Regions from separate parts of the Homo sapiens genome. Here region 2 is linked to region 1. Evidence: promoter capture Hi-C in 16 types of primary human blood cells and fetal thymus (Javierre and others, 2016). All regions are on one chromosome and are shown on one strand. The core of a region is centred on a gene start or on the middle of the fragment in contact, and the rest is flanking DNA. Distances in the headings are between cores, read along the strand shown. Region 1 overlaps ANKRD40 (ankyrin repeat domain 40). Region 2 holds the start of EPN3 (epsin 3).

Region 1 (3,504 bases), core at 569-3,068:
TAGGTGCCAGAGCTGACTGTATATTATGGAAGGAAAATACTTTTCGCCTGTGTTTTGAAAGGTCTTCTTTCACCAACTCTCTAACTGAACTGAGATACATATCTTCAGAGCTCTTATAGCCAAATACAGAAATGAAGATTAGAACAAATGTTCAATATTGAAGGTTAGTTCACTAACCTGGGAAGTATAATTATTTGGAAAGTTTATATGATTCCAGGAAAAAGCTGATTTGCCCTGGGCTTAACATTAGTAACTTACAGAAAGTTAGCATGTCTGGCTGGCTGGGAGCAATTCCATTGATGTCTCAGAGTGACATTCTACATTATGGTTCATTAGAATTAGATTATCCAGGTTCCTTTAAGGTGTATTCCATGATGCAATGACAAAATTATTGCTAATTTGGGAAAAATAAGAGTCTCGTTAAGTTTGGGAGAGAAGAGTCTTGATCAAGCTCCCTGAAGGCAAGGAAGTGTTTGCTTGGCATGTATTAATTAATATTTACTGAATGGGCCAGGCACGGTGGCTCACACCTGTAATCCCAGCACTTAGGGAGGCCAAGGCAGGTGGATCACTTTAGGTCGGGAGTTTGAGACCAGCCTGCCCAATAGGGTGAAACCCCATCTCTACTAAAAATACAAAAATTAGTGTGATGGTGCATGTCTGTAATCCCAGCTACTGGGGAGGCTGAGGCAGGAGAATTGCTTGAACCCAGGAGGTGGAGGTTGCAGCGAGCCAAGATTGTGCCACTGCACTTCAGCCTGGGCAACACAGCAAGACTCCATCTCAAAAAAAAAAAAAGTACCAAATGAGTAAACTAAGGATAAAGTGGACCTTGCTTGAAGTAGAAGGATCCAATCTACCCTTGATTCTGGGCAAACTGGAACCTTGAGTGTGTTTGTGTGTGGATGTCTGTGGCACAGGCTTAAAAAGTGAACAATTATAATGATAAGTGAGCCCTCAAAAATGAATGAAGCATGATGAGAAAAATATGCTCCCTTTTGGAAATAAAATGCTCACTTGCTAGTAGTAGATCACTTGTTCGTGGCAAGCTTGAGAGTAAAGGAGGTAATTTACTACCAGTGGGTCTGAGAGACTCTGGGACAAACCAACTTGCTAAACTACCACCCATGTAAAGCAGGGTTAAGTCAACATAGCGTGGCCCCCACAGCCCTGTGCCTTAGTGATCATCATTTACCGTCCAGAGCTGTGCGGCTCTGGGCAGCCATAACTCAGAGCCCCTGCAGCCAGGTAATATTTTCAAGTTCTTCATGAACCAAGGGTTATGCATGACACTTGAATTACAACTGATGTGGGGGAATGATTAGTGATCAATCTAATTGATAGATTACTCTATCTTTGAACTTCAACTCCTTAAGCTTTACATTTGCAGTCAAAATATCTTATTAGTGTCAGAAACTATTTCAGACCTGAGGCACTGGGTGTCATTCATCAACAGGGCATCACTCATTGGTGCTGAAATTGTGATTACTGAGCAACTAAGACTTGAAAGCAGTCACCATTCTGCTTTGCAAATGCAAGAGAGTACGTTTTTTTGAGGGTAACCTTATATTCCATTATCTAGCATATTGCTTCATAATAAGAAAACAACAACAATGGCTAATACAGGTATAATGCTTTACGTGTTGGACATTGTTCTAAAGGCATTACATGTATTAACTTATTTAATCCTCTAAACCCATGAGGTAATACTACTGTCAACATTCCCCCCATTTTACAGAAGAGGAAACAGACATCAGCAAATAAATAAGCAAAGCACGCAGTACGCTAGGTGGTGATGAAGTATGACAGCAATAGTAAAGCAGGGAAAGGCATTAGGGAATGACAGAGGTTGGAAAGGGGCATTGTGCAACTTTAAATTGAGGGCCCAGGAAAAGCCTTGCCAAGAAGGTGACATCTAAACTAAAATCTGAAGGTGGTGAGGAAGCAAACCATGTGATATCTGGAGGGAAAGCATTTAAGAGAGTGGGAAGACAAAACGCAAAGATCTTGAATCAGGACTGTCTGGTATTCCAGAGAAAGCAAGGAGGCCAGGGGAAAAAGGTAAGCAGAAGGGCAAATCCCATGAGATTAGCACAGAGGTAAGGAGGGAAGATGTGGGGACAGGAAGTAGAAATTGTAGGACCCTGTAGGCTTTTACTGAGTGAGATAGGAGCCATTTTTGAGCAGAGTGAAATGATCTGACTTATGTTTTAAGTCAGGATCCCTCTGACCACTGTGTTAATTAAGAAGACTGTATGATATAAGCTTAGGAGCAAGGACACTAGTAGGAGGCTATTGTAATAATCCAAGCAAGAGAAACAATGGTGGCTTTGTATCAGAGGTGTAGTGGTAGGGTTAGTGAGAAGTAGTCAGATTCTGACTGTATCTGAAGGTGGAGCTCATAGAATTGGCTGACTGGATGTCGGCTATGAAAGACAGGAGGCAAGCAGGAGGCAAGCAGGGTGCCAAGGGTTCTGGCCTGAGCACTCCTGAGAGGCTGAGGACTCAGAGGAGCAGGCTTGAGGTGGTAGAGGGATGAGGGGAGACTTGGAATTCAATCTTGGACATGTTGAGTTTGAGGGGCCTATTAGACAGTTCCTCCAATTAAATCTACAAGAGGCCGGGCGCGGTGGCTCACGCCTATAATCCCAGCACTTTGGGAGGCCGAGGCGGGCAGATCACCTGAGGTCAGGAGTTCGAGACCAGCTTGGCTAACATGGTGAAACCCCATTTCTACTAAAAATACAAAAAACTAGCCAGGCGTGGTGGCACACACCTGTAATCCTAGTTACTTGGGAGGATGAGGCAGGAGAATCGCTTGAACCCAGGAGGTGGAGGATGCAGTGAGCTGAGATCACGCATTGCACTCCAGCCTGGGTGACAAGAGTGAAACTCCATCTCAAAAAAAAAAAAAAAAAAAAAAACCTATAAGAAGCCTCTTCAGGCTACCTCAGAATCACTTCACTAAACACCTCCTATGGGGCAGACATTGTGTTTAGGAGGGTAGGTCTGGCATCAGATACCAGGTTTGTTTTCTGGCTCCACTAGTTACTGTCAATCCTATGACCTTGGGAAGGGGCACTGTGAAAAGTGAGGAAACAACTTACGGTTTCTGGGCCTCAGTTTCTTCATCTGTAAATGGAGAGAACAGTAACTATGTCCCCAGGTAGTTGTGAACAAGCTAACACATGTAAAACACTTAGAACCCTATCTGAGCTGGCCGGGCACGGTGGCTCACGCCTGTAATCCCAGAACTTTGGGAGGCAGAGTCAGGCGGATCACAAGGTCAGGAGATCGAGACCATCCTGGCTAACACGGTGAAACCCCATCTCTACTAAAAATACAAAAAATTAGCCGGGCGTGGTGGCGGGCACCTGTAGTCCCAGCTACTCGGGAGGCTGAGGCAGGAGAATGGCGTGAACCCAGGAGGCAGAGCTTGAAGTGAGCCAAGATGGCACCTGGCACCACTGCACTCCAGCCTGGGCGAGAGTGCGAGACTCTGTC
Region 2 (3,504 bases), core at 623-3,122, 170 kb before region 1:
AAAGGTACCAGCGCAGGGCCACCTCCCCAGACTGGTTTGAAAAGTAAAACTGCAAAAGCAGGTGGATTGCTTGAGCCCAGGAGTTCGAGACTAGCCTGGGCAATGTGGTGAAACCCCATCTCTACAAAAAATAGAAAAAAGTAGCCAGGTCTGGTGGTGCACGCCTGTAGTCCCAGCTACTTGGGAGGCTGAGATGGGAGAATCACCTGAGCCAGGGAAGTCAAGGCTGCAGTGAGCCATGATCACACCACTGGACTCCAGCCTGGGTGACAGAGTGAGATCCTGTCAAAAAAAAAAAAAATCTGCAAAACCAAAAATTATTTCACAAGAACTTTGAACTTGTGAAATTCTTTCACAAACAACTGGTTTCTTTCCCCTCTCCAGCTATTCTCTCACAGCATAGTTCATATATAGGTGCTTCCCACAGAGTAAACTCTGCCTGTGATGTTGTCCCGTTCTTCCAGGTCCGTGGGCTGCTGGACACCCTGGTGACTGACCTGATGGTCCTGGCTGATGAGCTCAGCCCCATAAAGAATGTCGAGGAGGCTTTGCGCCTCTGCAGGTGACTCTCGGGCCCAAGCAACCTTCTGGAAAACGGGTTAATAAATAAATCAATAAAGAACCTTCAAGTTTCTACTACTTCCGTGTGCCTCTGTGTCTTGCATGATGGATCTTGGCTAGGTCAGCTCCTGATCCAGGTCCTCCCATGTTCCACCTGCCCTCAGATCCCCTCCTGCCAGCTGCCAGAGCCCTCCTGCAGGAGGACAGACAGACATAGCTGGGGAAGTGATGTGTGGGATGCCAAGCAGAGGAGCAGATTGGTAGCAAGACAAGGAGTCAGGTGACAGGACAGTGTGTCACCTCTGGTAGTCCCTGCCTCTGGCTTCCTTGGCCCACACTTTCAGGGTCGTGCTTCCTGGAGCCAGGTCTTCCCGAAGTGTCATCACCAAGTATGACAAAGTGTGAGATGAGGAGTAGAACTAGACCCATGGGACCTGGCTCCCTGCCATCTCCCCTCTTCAGCTGGGTCCCAGGGCCCCAATTCAGTCCCTGAAGATCATGCTCACCACACCTCTTCAGCTCTAGAGGCCACATCACCTTGTTATTTCGGGGTCTAGTCTGCCTTATCCCCCTCCTCATCTCAAACTATCTGGCCTTGAGCCATCTTTCTGCCTTAAAAACAGCTGCTGATCTTCATGCTACCTCCCTTGCTCAGGGGAACATGAAACAGGCTAGAAATGGCTCTCAGAAAAAAAGGTATTGTCAGCTCAAACTCAGGCCCCTCATTGTCTTCTGTCAGTCATAACCATTTGGGGCTGGGCTCCCTGTGTGAAGAGCACTCCAGGCTCCCAGAGTTTGAAGAACAACTTTGGTTTTTGGGTGGGTGGGCATCCTTAAGTGGGCCTCAGGCATCCTCCAGCTGAGATGCAGGAGGGGGAGGATGGACAGAAGGATCTGACTCCGTGTGGGAAAGGCAGGGAGGGGGCTGTGCTGGAGTCCTGATGCTCTCCTCCCCAAGAAGACGAGAAGACGGGGGCTCCACCAAAGAGCCAGCCCCAGGGAATGTCCCTGCCCTCTCCTTTAATGTCCTCCCGGCCCAGAGGAGGAAGGGGAGGGGTGTGGTGGGGGTGTTGGAGCCCCCCTCCTTTCCTGTTGAAGAGGCAGGGGAAGGGTTAACTCAAAGCAGAGGGGATCAGGTCGCCAGCACTGGCTCCAGATGTGCACTTCCTGGGGGCGGCCAACAGGCAGGCCCCCCACCTCTCAATGCACCACTTGCCTGGCCAGCAGGAAGGGGTTAACCTGCCCTGCACTTCCTCCTGTGTCCTGTTACTGCTGAGGCAGACCTGCCGGGCCAGCTGAGCAACTTTCCTCGGAGTGCTGCCTGGCGCTGGCTAGGAGGCAAACGCACGCGGGAAGAGCTGCTACCCATTCCAGGGACCCTGCCGCTGCCCCTCTGAGGGGTCTGCACCTCCTGGGAGCAGGTGGGTCTCTGGGACGAGGGTCCATGGTGGATGGCTCTGGAGACGCTCCCGAGGCTGTGCCGTCCCGCTGCTGCACAGGTCGGAGGGTCACCGCAGAGGCTACTCGGGCTGGGGCTGGGGCCGAGGGAGCCCGCACTGGAGGTAAGCTTCCTCCCTGGCCCCCTCCCTGGCAGTGGCGGCATGGAAGGCGGGGGTTGGTGGGGAGCAAACAGTGGTTCTGGGGCTTAGTCTCTTTTCCAGGTGCGAGGGAGAAGGCTGAGCTGTAGAGGACCTAAAGGCTTCTTTCCTGCCACCCCTCCCTCCCTGCCGCCCCCAAAAAGGGACTCAGGGCCCCCTCCCCAACCATCCTGGGACTTAGCATCTTTGGTGGCATCTTAGCATCTTTGGTGGCATTCCCCACAGACTCCTTCTGCACATCTCTGCTGTTTCCTCTTCTTCAGCCCCTCATGCACACCTCTAGCCTCAGGGCAGTCCCCCCTCCCCCATCTTCTGTGCTCCCGGGATGCAGCTATTACAGTGGCCAGAAGCTTAGAGTTCAAGCTCACCCCCTGTCCCTTACAGCATCAAGAAGGGCACTGTCATTCCCCACTGCTCAGGCTGGATCTGACTTGGAGGCAGGGGCTGGAGCCCACCTTAGCAGAGGACGGGAAGAGGGTGTGGGCTGGGCTGGTGGGTGCACAGACTTTACGCAAACTCATGCACGTGTGACTGGACAGATCTGGGTTCTCTCCATCTCTCCGAAACCCTTGCTGGGGATGAGCGATCTGCATTTTTCGGTCCTGACTTTTGGGAAACTCTCCAGATCCCCCCATCCTGCAGGCCCTGAGAAGAGCAGCCCCTCCCTACTGCGCAGTTCTCCTTGGGACCCTGTATGCAGGAGAGAGCTGATACTCCGTGCCCCGTGGCCCATCCCACCGCCTGCTGGCCCTGCTCCCATCCCCTCAGCTTCCTCCCTCCTCTGCCCTCTCGTCATCTCTGAATTCTCAGGCCCTGCCCTCTCTGTGCCCTTCCCTCCACCTGACAGGGTCTGGCTCAAGGTCACTGCAGTAATTCCATACCCAGCTGCCCAGGGCTGCTGCTGCTACCGCCACCGCCTTATCGGCCGCTGGGTTTCTGTTACACTCCCTTTTATTTCTGGGCATATCGTGTTCGATAAAACCCTTTGCTTGTAACACTGCTGGCAGCGCTCCCAGCTGCTCCCTCCCGCGTTCCCGCGTTCCTTCCTTTCCTCCTCCCTTCTCTGCGCTTGGGCAGGCTTCTTCCTTTCCTCCTCCCTTCTCTGCGCTTGGGCAGGCTTCTTCCTTTCCTCCTCCCTTCTCTGTGCTTGGGCAGCCTCACCTTGTCCCCTCAAACTCCAGAGAAGGAAAATCAAGGTGCCTCCCCATGTTTCTGGCCCCGCCCTTCCCCCCAGCCCCTGCAGGGGTGTGCAGAGAATGCCCACCTTCTGTGAGAAAGGTCCAGGCAGGGCCGCTGGGCCCACACCGAGAGTCCCCTCCCAGAGGCTGGTGCCCCCACACAGGCC

The links. The method cuts DNA at HindIII sites, captures the fragments that hold promoters and counts their contacts. A CHiCAGO score of 5 or more calls a contact.
Region 2: the fragment with the promoter of EPN3 here is called in contact with a fragment that was not itself captured in region 1 in 7 of 17 cell types (endothelial precursors, M1 macrophages, megakaryocytes and 4 more); the score reaches 14.7 in endothelial precursors.

Annotation. Positions count from the first base shown.
Region 1 is chr17:50,701,615-50,705,118 of GRCh38, forward strand. All of the region lies in intron 1 of ANKRD40 (ankyrin repeat domain 40), which reads right to left. Among named protein-coding and RNA genes, the nearest start is that of ANKRD40, 4.5 kb to the right of the region's middle. The HindIII fragment of the contact is 889 bases long and covers 1,375-2,263 here.
Region 2 is chr17:50,530,863-50,534,366 of GRCh38, forward strand. It overlaps EPN3 (epsin 3), which reads left to right and starts at 1,873. Exons shown (of 10, transcript NM_017957.3): 1 at 1,873-2,123. MYCBPAP (MYCBP associated protein) reads left to right here. Exons shown (of 19, transcript NM_032133.6): 19 at 465-639. The coding sequence ends at 566. RefSeq lists enhancers at 2,739-3,415, 3,416-3,504. The HindIII fragment of the contact is 5,271 bases long and covers 1-2,126 here.